Linked DNA regions of Homo sapiens: region 2 is linked to region 1. The links are contacts of gene promoters, found by promoter capture Hi-C in human tissues and cell types (Jung and others, 2019). All regions are on one chromosome and are shown on one strand. The core of a region is centred on a gene start or on the middle of the fragment in contact, and the rest is flanking DNA. Distances in the headings are between cores, read along the strand shown.

The links. Contacts are between HindIII fragments. The study calls those that stand out against the background at their distance.
Region 2: a fragment that was not itself captured here is called in contact with the fragment with the promoter of LRRC73 in region 1 in 1 of the 25 tissues and cell types used here (dorsolateral prefrontal cortex).

The regions. Positions count from the first base shown.
Region 1 is chr6:43,508,743-43,514,464 of GRCh38, reverse strand. LRRC73 (leucine rich repeat containing 73) reads left to right here and starts at 4,119. Exons shown (of 6, transcript NM_001012974.4): 1 at 4,119-4,951; 2 at 5,545-5,705. The coding sequence starts at 4,680. YIPF3 (Yip1 domain family member 3) reads left to right here. Exons shown (of 9, transcript NM_015388.4): 4 at 832-877; 5 at 1,014-1,106; 6 at 1,265-1,396; 7 at 1,591-1,704; 8 at 1,902-2,025; 9 at 2,150-2,633. The coding sequence ends at 2,298. RefSeq lists silencers at 3,962-4,251, 4,272-4,541. The HindIII fragment of the contact is 5,504 bases long and covers 3,433-5,722 here.
Region 2 is chr6:42,894,164-42,899,738 of GRCh38, reverse strand. No RefSeq gene overlaps it. Among named protein-coding and RNA genes, the nearest start is that of PEX39, 6.1 kb to the right of the region's middle. The HindIII fragment of the contact is 6,847 bases long and covers 639-5,575 here.

The DNA.
Region 1 (5,722 bases), core at 2,870-5,369:
ACCACTTCACATATATTTTTCAAGAAAATACTCGAAAGTGCCTGGAGGCACAGATAAGCAGGAAGAGGAGGCGTTTTTACTATTCCCTCAGTAACACCTTTCATTCTAAACTTTCCATCTAGCCGGCTAGACTTTTCCCAGGGCTTCCTCATTATAACCCTGAATTCTGGGTACTCTCTGCTGAGGTCTGCCTGTCTTGTCATGTCTTTGTTTTGTTTTGTTTTGAGATGGAGTCGCACTCTGTCACCCAGGCTGGAGTGCAGTGGCGCGATCTCGGTTCACTGCAACCTCCGCTTCCCGGGTTCAGGCAATTCTCCTGCCTCAGCCTCCTGAGTAGCTGGGACTACAGGCGCCCGCCACCATGCCCAGCTAATTTTTTGTATTTTTCGTAGAGACAGGGTTTCACCATATTGGCCAGGCTGGCCTCAAACTCCTGACCTTGTGATCTGCCTGCCTCGGCCTCCCAAAGTGCTGGGATTACAGGCGTGAGCCACCGCGCCCAGCCTGCCTGTCTTTTCAAGGGGAGGGGGCAGACGGATACATGGTCGGGCCCTCCTTCAAGGCCCAGTAGGGCTGAGTTCTCCATATAGCTGCTGTTTCAGTCAGCTAAGTTTCAGAGGGTTGTCCTTCCTGGAAGTAACTTTAGGGGCAAGGAAATGATTTCCTCATTCCCTATCTGTCTTTACTACCCTGTTCTACCGTGTCATCCAACATGTCTTCTAGGCCAGGCCCCATTCCCTGGAGTTAGAGATGAATAAAATTCAGGCCTTGCCCTCCAGAACCTCATGGCCTTGTGCTGCCTTTGCTTTAATCTCTCCTCTCCTCTCCCAGGCTCCTGGAGTCCATGATCCCTATCAAGATGGTCAACTTCCCCCAGGTGAATAGAGGGTGGCATGTCTGGAGAGCCGGGGGAAGCACCAGGGCAGAGGGTGGGACCACCAGGCAAATCCTGGGAAGCCATAAACAGATGAGCTGTTGTACCCTCCAGCCTGAATGAATTGGTATATTGACAGAAAATTGCAGGTGAACTCTATGGACCTCTCATGCTGGTCTTCACTCTGGTTGCTATCCTACTCCATGGGATGAAGACGTCTGACACTATTATCGTAAGCAGGACAGACAACTTTGGGGGGGTGGCTGCACTAGGTTGAAAGCTGCCTGAGGATACAATGGTGGAGTGAGACAGGAACAGCCCCTGCGGAAGGCCCTAGGTGAGGCTGAGATCAGAGGCCTCCTAGGACTAAATAGAGCCTTCACCCCACAGCGGGAGGGCACCCTGATGGGCACAGCCATTGGCACCTGCTTCGGCTACTGGCTGGGAGTCTCATCCTTCATTTACTTCCTTGCCTACCTGTGCAACGCCCAGATCACCATGCTGCAGATGTTGGCACTGCTGGTAAGGAGCCAGGTGTGGTGGGCAAGAGTGATGTTAAAAAGAGTAGCCAGGCCTTGGTCGGCATCTGTCCTGGGGCCCCAAAGCCTGGAATGGGAGGAGTAGGCCAATGGACCATGTGTTTCCCAGGGTCCCCATGAGGGGCCAGAAAGCAGCCCAACCTGAATGATTTTCCTCTCCACCATCCTCCTTCCCAGGGCTATGGCCTCTTTGGGCATTGCATTGTCCTGTTCATCACCTATAATATCCACCTCCACGCCCTCTTCTACCTCTTCTGGCTGTTGGTGGGTGGACTGTCCACACTGCGCATGGTAAGCTGGGCAAGAGGCTTCCAGGGGTGGGCTGTCCTCCCAGGGAGTTGGGGAAGACAGCCTGGAGCTGTCCATCTCACAAAGAGCCCTAAATGGGAGGGAAGAGCCCAAAGATGGTTCTGCCCTGGGTGGGGGTGTCTTGTCCCCACTCCTCACTTTGGAGCCAGGCCCTTTGAGCTGTATTCTCATGGTCCTAGGTAGCAGTGTTGGTGTCTCGGACCGTGGGCCCCACACAGCGGCTGCTCCTCTGTGGCACCCTGGCTGCCCTACACATGCTCTTCCTGCTCTATCTGCATTTTGCCTACCACAAAGTGGTAGAGGGTAAGTGGCAGGAAGGTCTGGGTGGGGGAGAATGGGAAAGCAGCTGCCTAGAGCAAGAAGCTAGATATGATGGCTGGTGGGCTGGGCCCATCTGATCCTCGCTCACCTTCCATCTTCCTTCCAGGGATCCTGGACACACTGGAGGGCCCCAACATCCCGCCCATCCAGAGGGTCCCCAGAGACATCCCTGCCATGCTCCCTGCTGCTCGGCTTCCCACCACCGTCCTCAACGCCACAGCCAAAGCTGTTGCGGTGACCCTGCAGTCACACTGACCCCACCTGAAATTCTTGGCCAGTCCTCTTTCCCGCAGCTGCAGAGAGGAGGAAGACTATTAAAGGACAGTCCTGATGACATGTTTCGTAGATGGGGTTTGCAGCTGCCACTGAGCTGTAGCTGCGTAAGTACCTCCTTGATGCCTGTCGGCACTTCTGAAAGGCACAAGGCCAAGAACTCCTGGCCAGGACTGCAAGGCTCTGCAGCCAATGCAGAAAATGGGTCAGCTCCTTTGAGAACCCCTCCCCACCTACCCCTTCCTTCCTCTTTATCTCTCCCACATTGTCTTGCTAAATATAGACTTGGTAATTAAAATGTTGATTGAAGTCTGGAACTGCAGCGGCTGATCCAGTGGTCCTCCCTGTCATCCCGCTTCCTATATACTTTCCTACTCAGTCAACAGTGGTAATGTCATATGTTCCCTTCTTCATATCCTCACCCAGGCAAGATAAAGGTGGGACAGGCCAGACTACATAGAAGGCAGTGATTGAATATCACACCTGACCCATGAAGCGGCAGGGAGGCCTCAAGCACAAAAGCCATAAGCCTGATGGAACACTGCAGCCAGCTTGAGTCTGGGCTCAGCTGCTCTCTTGGGAAGCCAAGGAAGCAGTGACAATTGAACAAAACATCCCGACTTAAACCCCGTGTCAAAACAAGGATCTTCTGCACCTGGGCATTGTGTTGATAATTTTCCTGTGGAGCTCTTAATTGAAGCCAAATTTGGCTTTGCCTTGGTGGTACTGGGGCCAGCTCCTTTTAGTTTTTCTGTCTTTCCTCTTAAAACCAACCACCACTCCTAACATAGCACCATCCACCCCCACCACCTCTTTAATATGCTCCACTTAATAAGTTAATTCAGGTGGCTAAGAGTGGGAATAGGGCCTTTGACCTCCCTTCACTATATTGAATATTATATTTTATGTAAAATAATCATCTTAACACTAGTAAATCTGGGTCAGCAGCATCTATCCCTCCTAACAAAGGGACAAACAGAGGTGCCCTTCATTTGTCCTGCGTTACACAAGTGAGTCCCCCACCACCCTGGCCAGAGGACAAAGTTGAGACAGCACCGCCTGCACCGTGCAGTGTGGCTCAGCCGCCTTCACGTCCTCACCAGTGCTCCAGGGCCCTGGCCCTGGCACCTTCTTTGTATTGGCTGCCCCAGTCTCGCGGCACGGACACACCCTCAGATGTCAACAGTGCCCTGCGTACCTGAGAAGGTGTGGCACCAGGACCTTGCATCTATCTGAGGCTCCCCTGCCCTAGGGACCCTATGGGGTACCCTTCTCCCCAGCAGCTCAAGCTGGCTCTGCCCAGCCGTGGCCCCTGGGGCCTCCCTGATGAGGCCGCCATCTTGGCGAGGAGCAAGCGGGGAAGTCCCCATGGGCCGGGATCACCACGCACGCTGCGCCTCGAGTCACGGGGGCGGGAGCGAGGCGCGGCGCGGATGAAAGGGCCCTGGGGCCTTCCAAATAGGAGGGAACAGTGCCCTGGATTCCGGCGGGGGTATGGACCTTAGGAACGGGGAAGGATGGAAGAATGGGCAGAAGCAGCAGTAACCGTGCCCAACGCCATCTCCACGGGGCGTGCCTCCATTCCGCTCCCCGTCAGCCCTACCCACTCAGCCCTGCCGCCTGCCGCCTGCCAGTTGGCTGACCCCACTCCCAAGGGAAGAGCGGCCTATCGCTCCCAGCTCCTTGCCCCGAACCACCCAGTGTACGCGAACCTCGCGGGCCGGCGTGGCCTTGGCCGGGCAGGGGGCGGGGCGAGCGCCGGTGACGCGGCCGTTGCCATGGGAACTCGCCGCCCGCTCGCTCTCTGGAGCTGGAGCCGGAGCTGCCGCCAGCCGCCCGCCTCAGGCTCTCTCTGCCAGCCGTGCGGCCAGGCCCGCGGGGTGGTCGGGGGGAGCCGGGCGGCAGAGAAGGAGGGAGCGGGTACGGCCTCCTAGCCGAGACCGGTAAGCCGAAGCCCTTGAGCCGCTCGCTGCCGCTGCCGCCGCCGCCGCCGCGACCGCGAGGGACAAGGACAAGCGCCGAGCAGCGCCTGCCCAACCCCCGGAACGCGCACCCGCCCCAACGCCCAGACACGGACCGTGCGGGCCGCCCCCGCCCCAGCGCCGCCCCACTTCAGCCCGGCCCGCGCCCTGGACGCCTCCGCACCTCTGGCCGGCTCCGGCTCAGTCCCGGTAGCTCTTCTCCGCCCCCGCCGCAGCCTCCGCCGCAGCCGCAGCCTCCGCCACAGCCGCCGCCTCCACCCCCGGCCCCACTCCGCCCGCGACCCCTGCCGGGGCCCCGACCCCGGCCCTATCCCCGGCCCCGCCCGCGGCCCCACCAACCTCCGTTCCGGCCCCGTACCCGGAGGCCCAGCCGTGGGCACGATGCTGCCCAGCTCCATCCAGATTTCGGGGGAGCCGCTGTCCGGCGCCGAGGTGCGGGACATCTGCCGCGGCCTTCGCGACAACGCCGTGCGCCTGCTCTCACTGCGCGGCTGCCGCCTCTGCGACCGCGACTTTGGCCGCATCTGCCGGGCCCTGGCCGGGGCCACGTCCCTGGCGCAGCTCAACCTTAACCTGGGCGTCGTGTCCAGCCCCAGCCGCATCAAGCAGCTGGCTGAGGCTCTGCGGACCAACCGCTCCATCCAGTCCCTCTTGTGAGTGCGCCCCCTCGCAAGGGGGTCCCGGGCACTGCACCCTTCCATACACTCCCCTGGCACCTCCTGTTCCTCCACACTCCTTCCAGTACCATCCTACCTTCACATGCCTTATGCACATACACCGTGCCTCGGCCCATGCCTTCACAGCACCCTCCAAGCACATGCTTGGACTTTGCACGCGCGACCCTAGCCGTGTTGGGATACCCACCAGTTCCTGACATGAGGTGGGGGCCGTACCTCCCCACCTAATCATCTGCATTTACTTCACTGGGGCAGCTCCTTGGTTCCCAAGGGGGAATATCCCCGTGGGGACGAGAGCCCTGCCCACTGCAGAGTTCCGGTCCACCACCCACCCACCCCTTCTCTGCCCCTCCCTGTGCAATGTCCTGGATCCCTGCCCCAGAAAACAAACCGAATTCTCCCTCTATCTGTATTCCCTGAGAATCTAGAACTTTCCTTCTCCTTTTCCAGGCCTCTCAAGCGCTGTGACTGCCCTCCCCATACCTAGGGCTGACAGAAGTGAAAGTGCCCCTTTCCCATGTAGATAGTGCGGAGGACTGCAGTAACCCTGCTCTCTCACTCTCCTCCAGCCTGCATGGGAGCCCCCTGACAGATGCGGGGCTGGCCTTGCTGAACCCAGCCCTGGCCCTCCACCCTGCCCTCGTGGCTCTGGACCTGGGGGACTGCATGCTGGGTGATGAAGCCATCAACCTCATCTGTGGCCTCCTGCCCCCAGATGGGGCCAAATCTGGTGAGCAGGACCCTGTT
Region 2 (5,575 bases), core at 2,813-5,312, 610 kb after region 1:
TTGGGCTAGTCAGGTCTCAGAGGATAGACCCGTGTGTGCAGTCACTATTCAGGGAAAGCAGTTTGAAGGATTAGTGGATACTGGGTGATGGTGCTATCATTGCCTTAAATCAATGGCCCCAAAATTGGCCTAAACAAAAGCCTGTTACAGGACTTGTCGGCGTAGGCACTGCCTCAGAAGTGTATCAAAGTGCCATGAGTTTACATTGTCTAGGACCTGATGATCAAGAAAGTACAGTTCAGCCTATGATCACTTCTATTCCAATTAATTTATGGGGCCGAGACTTGTTACAACAATGGCATGCAGCGATTACTATCCCAGCCCCCAATACAGCCCCACGAGTCAAAAAATCATAACTAAAATGGGATATCTCCCTGAAAAGGGACTAGGAAAGAATGAAGACAGCATTAAAGTCCCAATTGAGGCTGAAAAAACTCAAAAAAGAAAAGGAATAGGGTATCCTTTTTAAGAGCGGCCACTGTAGAGCCTCCAAAACCCATTCCATTAACTTGGAAAACAAAAAAACCTGTATGGGTGAATCAGTGGCTGCTACCAAAACAAAAGCTGGAGGCTTTACACTTATTAGCAAAGGAACAATTAGAAAAGGGACATATTGAGCCTTCATTTTCGCCTTGGAATTCTCCTGTGTTTGTAATTCAGAAAAAATCCGGCAGATGGCGCGTGCTGACCGACTTAAGAGCCGTTAATGCTGTAATTCAACCCATGGGGGCTCTCCAACCTGGGTTGCTCTCTCCGGTCATGATCCCCAAAGATCGGCCTTTAGTTATAATTGATCTGAAGGATTGCTTTTTTACCGTTCCTCTGGCAAAACAGGATTTTGAAAAATTTGCTTTTACTATACCAGCCATAAATAATAAAGAACCAGCCACCAGGTTTCAGTGGAAAGTGTTGCCTCAGGGAATGCTTAATGGTCCAACTATTTGCCAGACTTTTGTAGCTCAAGCTCTTCAACCAATTAGAGACAGTTTTCAGACTCTTATATCATTCATTATGTTGATGATATTTTGTGTGCTACAGAAAGGAGAGACAAATTAATTGACTGTTACACATTTCTGCAGACAGAGGTTGCAAACGCAGGACTGACGACAGCATCTGATAAGATTCAAACCTCTACTCCTTTCCATTACTTGGAAATGCAGGTGGAGGAAACGAAAATTAAACCATAAAAAATAGAAATAAGAAAAGACACATTAAAAACATTAAATGACTTTCAAAAATTGCTAGGAGATATTAATTGGATTCAGCCAACTCTAGGCATCTCTACTTATGCCATGTCAAATTTGTTCTCTATCTTAAGAGGGGATCCAGAATTGAATAGTAAAAGAACATTAACTCCAGAAGCAACTAAAGAAATTGAATTAGTTGAAGAAAAAATTCGGTCAGCACAAGTAAATAGAATAGATCACTTAGCCCCACTCCAACTTTTGATTTTTGCTACTGCACATTCTCCAACAGGCATTATTGCTCAAAATACAGATCTTGTGGAGTGGTTCTTCCTTCCTCATAGTACAATTAAGACTTTTACATTGTACTTGGATCAAATGGCTACATTAATTGGTCAGGCAAGATTACGAATAATAAAATTGTGTGAAAGTGACTCAGATAAAATCATTGTTCCTTTAAACAAGGAACAGGTTAGACAAGCCTTTATCAATTCTGGTGCATGGCAGATTGGTCTTGCTGATTTTGTGGGAATTATTGACAATCATTACCCAAAAACAAAAATCTTCCAGTTTTTAAAATTGACTACTTGGATTTTACCTAAAATTACTAGACATAAACCTTTAGAAAATGCTCTGACAGTGTTTACTGATGGTTCCAGCAATGGAAAAGCGGCTTACACCAGGCCAAAAGAACGACTCATTGAAACTCAATATCACTGGGCTCAAAGAGCAGAGTTGGTTGCTGTCATTACAGTGTTACAAGATTTTAATCAGCCTATTAACATTGTATCAGATTCTGCATATGTAGTACAGGCTACAAAGGATGTTGAGACAGCCCTAATCAAATATAGTATAGATGATCAGTTAAACCAGCTGTTTAATATGTTACAACAAACTGTAAGAAAAAGAAATTTCCCATTTTATGTTACTCATATTCGAGCACATACTAATTTACCAGAGCCTTTAACTAAAGCAAATGAACAAGTTGACTTGCTAGTATCATCTGCATTCCTGGAAGCACAAGAACTTCATGCCTTGACTCATGTAAATGCAACAGGACTAAAAAATAAATTTGACATCACATGGAAACAGGCAAAAAATATTGTACAACATTACACCCAGTGTCAGATTCCACACCTGCCCACTCAGGAGGCAGGAGTTAATCCCAGAGGTCTGTGTCCTAATGCGTTATGGCAAATGGATGTCACACATGTACCTTCAGTTGGAAAATTGTCATTTCTCCATGTGACAGTTGATGCTTATTCACATTTTGTAAGGGCAAACTGCCAGACAGGAGAAAATACTTCCCATGTTAAAAGACATTTATTATCTTGTTTTGCTGTCATGGGAGTTCCAGAAAAAATTAAAACGGATAATGGGCCAGGATACTGTAGTAAAACATTTCAAAAATTCTTAAATCAGTGGAAAATTACACATACAACAGGAATCCCTTATAATTCCCAAGGACAGGCCATAATTGAAAAAACTGATAGAACACTCAAAGCTCAATTGGTTAAACAAAAAAAGGAAAAAAGACAGTAAGGAGTATAACACTCCCCAGATGCAACTTAATCTAGCACTCTATACTTTAAATTTTTTAAACATTTATAGAAATCAAACCACTACTTCTGCAGAACAACATTTTACTGGTAAAAAGAATAGCCCACATGAAGGAAAACTGATTTGGTGGAAAGACAAGAAAAATAAGACATGGGAAATAGGGAAGGTGATAACATGGGAGAGAGGCTTTGCTTGTGTTTCACAAGGAGAAAATCAGCTTCCTGGTTGGATACCCACTAGAAATTTAAAGTTCTACAATGAACCCCTTGGAGATGCGAAGAAAAGCGCCTCTGCGGAGACAAAAAACCCTCAATTGAGCATCATCGACTCGCCAGGTAAATAAAATGGTGATATCAGAAGAACAGATGAAGTTGCCATCCACCAAGGAAGCGGAGCCACCGACTTGGGCCCAATTAAAGAAGCTGACACAGTTAGCTAAAAAAAGCCTAAAGAACACAAGGGTAATGTGAACTCCAGAGAATATACTGCTTACAGCTTTGATTATTATATCAACGGTAGTAAGTCTCCCCATGTCTGCAGGAGCAGCTGCAACTAATTATACTTACTGTGCCTATGTGCCTTTCCCACCCTTAATTTGGGCAGTCACATGGATGGATAATCCTGTTGAAGTATATGTTAATAATAGGGCATGGGTACCAGGCCCCACAGACGATTGTTGCCCTGCCCAACCTAAAGAAGAAGGAATGATGATAAATGTTTCCACTGGGTATCATTATCCTCCTATTTGCCTAGGGAAGGCACCAGGATGTTTAATGCCTACAACCCAAAACTGGTTGGTAGAAGTACCTACCGTCAGTGCCACCAGTAAATTTACTTATCACATGGTAAGTGGAATGTCACTCGGGCCACAGATAAATAATTTAGAGGACGCTTCTTATCAAAGATCATTAAAATCTGGGCCTAAGGGGAAGCCTTGCCCCAAGGAAATTCCCAAAGAATCAAAAAGCCCAGAAGCCTTAGTTTGGGAAGAATGTGTGGCTAATACTGCGGTGGTATTACAAAACAATGAATTTGGAACTACTATAATATTATATAATAGTTATATATTATATTATATTATATACAATTATATTATATATAATTGTATGGGCCAGACTCACTCATGTTTACAGGCCCCATCCATCTGGCCCATTAATCCGGCCTATGATAGTGATTTAATTGAAAGGCTGGACCAGGTTTATAGAAGGCTAGAATCACCCTATCCCTGGAAATGGGGTGAAAAGGGAATTTCATCACCTCGACCAAAGTTAGTTAGTCCTGTTACTGGTCCTAAACATCCAAAATTATGGAAGCTTACTGTGGCCTCGCACTACATTAGAATTTGGTCTGGAAATCAAGCTACAGAAACAAGAAATCGTAAGCCATATTATACTATCAACCTAAATTCCAATCTGACAATTCCTTTACAAAGTTGTGTAAAACCCCCTTATATGCTAGTTATAGAAAACATAGTTATTAAACCAGATTCCCAAACTATAACCTGTGAAAACTGTAGATTGTTTACTTGCATTGATTTGACTTTTAATTGGCAGCGCCATATTCTGCTAGTGAGGGCAAGAGAAGGTGTGCGGATCCCTGTGTCCATGGACCGACAGTGGGAGGCTTCGCCATCTTCCATATTTTAACGGAAGTATTAAAAGGAATTCTAACTAGATCCAAAAGATTTTTACTTTGATTGCAGTGATTATGGGCCTTATTGCAGTCACAGCTACTGCTGCAGCTGCTGGAATTGCTTTACACTCCTCTGTTCAAACTGCAGAATATGTAAATGATTGGCGAAAGAATTCCTCAAAATTGTGGAATTCTCAGACCCAAATAAATCAAAAATTGGCAAACGAAATTAATGATCTTAGACAAACTGTCATTTGGCTGGGAAATAGGCTCATGAGCTTGGAATATCTTTTTCAGTTACAGTGTGACTGGAATATGTCAGATTTTTGTATTACACCCCAAGCCTATAATGAGTCTGAGCATCACTGGGACATGGTTAGATGCCATCTACAGGGAAGAGAAGATAATCTTACTTTAGATATTTCAAAATTAAAATAACAAAATTTTGAGGCATCGAAAGCCCATTTAAATTTGGGAACTGAGGCAATCGTGAAAGCTACTGATGGCCTCACAAATCTTAACACTGTCACTTGGTTAAAAACCATCAGAAGTTCCACTATTGTAAATTTCATATTAATCCTTGTATGCCTGTTCTGTCTGTTGTTAGTCCACAGGTGTATCCACCAGCTCCGAAGAGACAGCGACCAGCAAGAACGGGCCATAACGACGATGGCAGTTTTGTCAAAAAGGGGGATATGTAGGGAAAAGAGAGATCCGACTGTTACTGTGTCTACATAGAAAAGGAAGACATAAGAAACTCCATTTTGATCTGTACCCTGAACAATTGTTTTGCCTTGAGATGCTGTTAATATGTAACTTTAGCCCCAACCTTGTGCTCACGGAAATATGTGTTGTATGGAATCAAGGTTTAAGGGATCTAGGGCTGTGCAGGATGTGCCTTGTTAACAAAATGTTTACAGGCAGTATGCTTGGTAAAAGTCATCGCCATTCTCCATTCTCGATTAACCAGGGGCACAATGCACTGCAGAAAGCCACAGGGACCTCTGCCCAGGAAAGCCAGGTATTGTCCAAGGTTTCTCCCCACTGAGACAGCCTGAGGTATGGCCTCGTGGGACGGGAAAGACCTGACCATCCCCCAGCCCGACACCCGTGAAGGGTCTGTGCTGAGGAGGATTAGTAAAAGAGGAAGGCCTCTTGCGGTTGAGATAAGAGGAAGGCCTCTGTCTCCTGCATGCCCC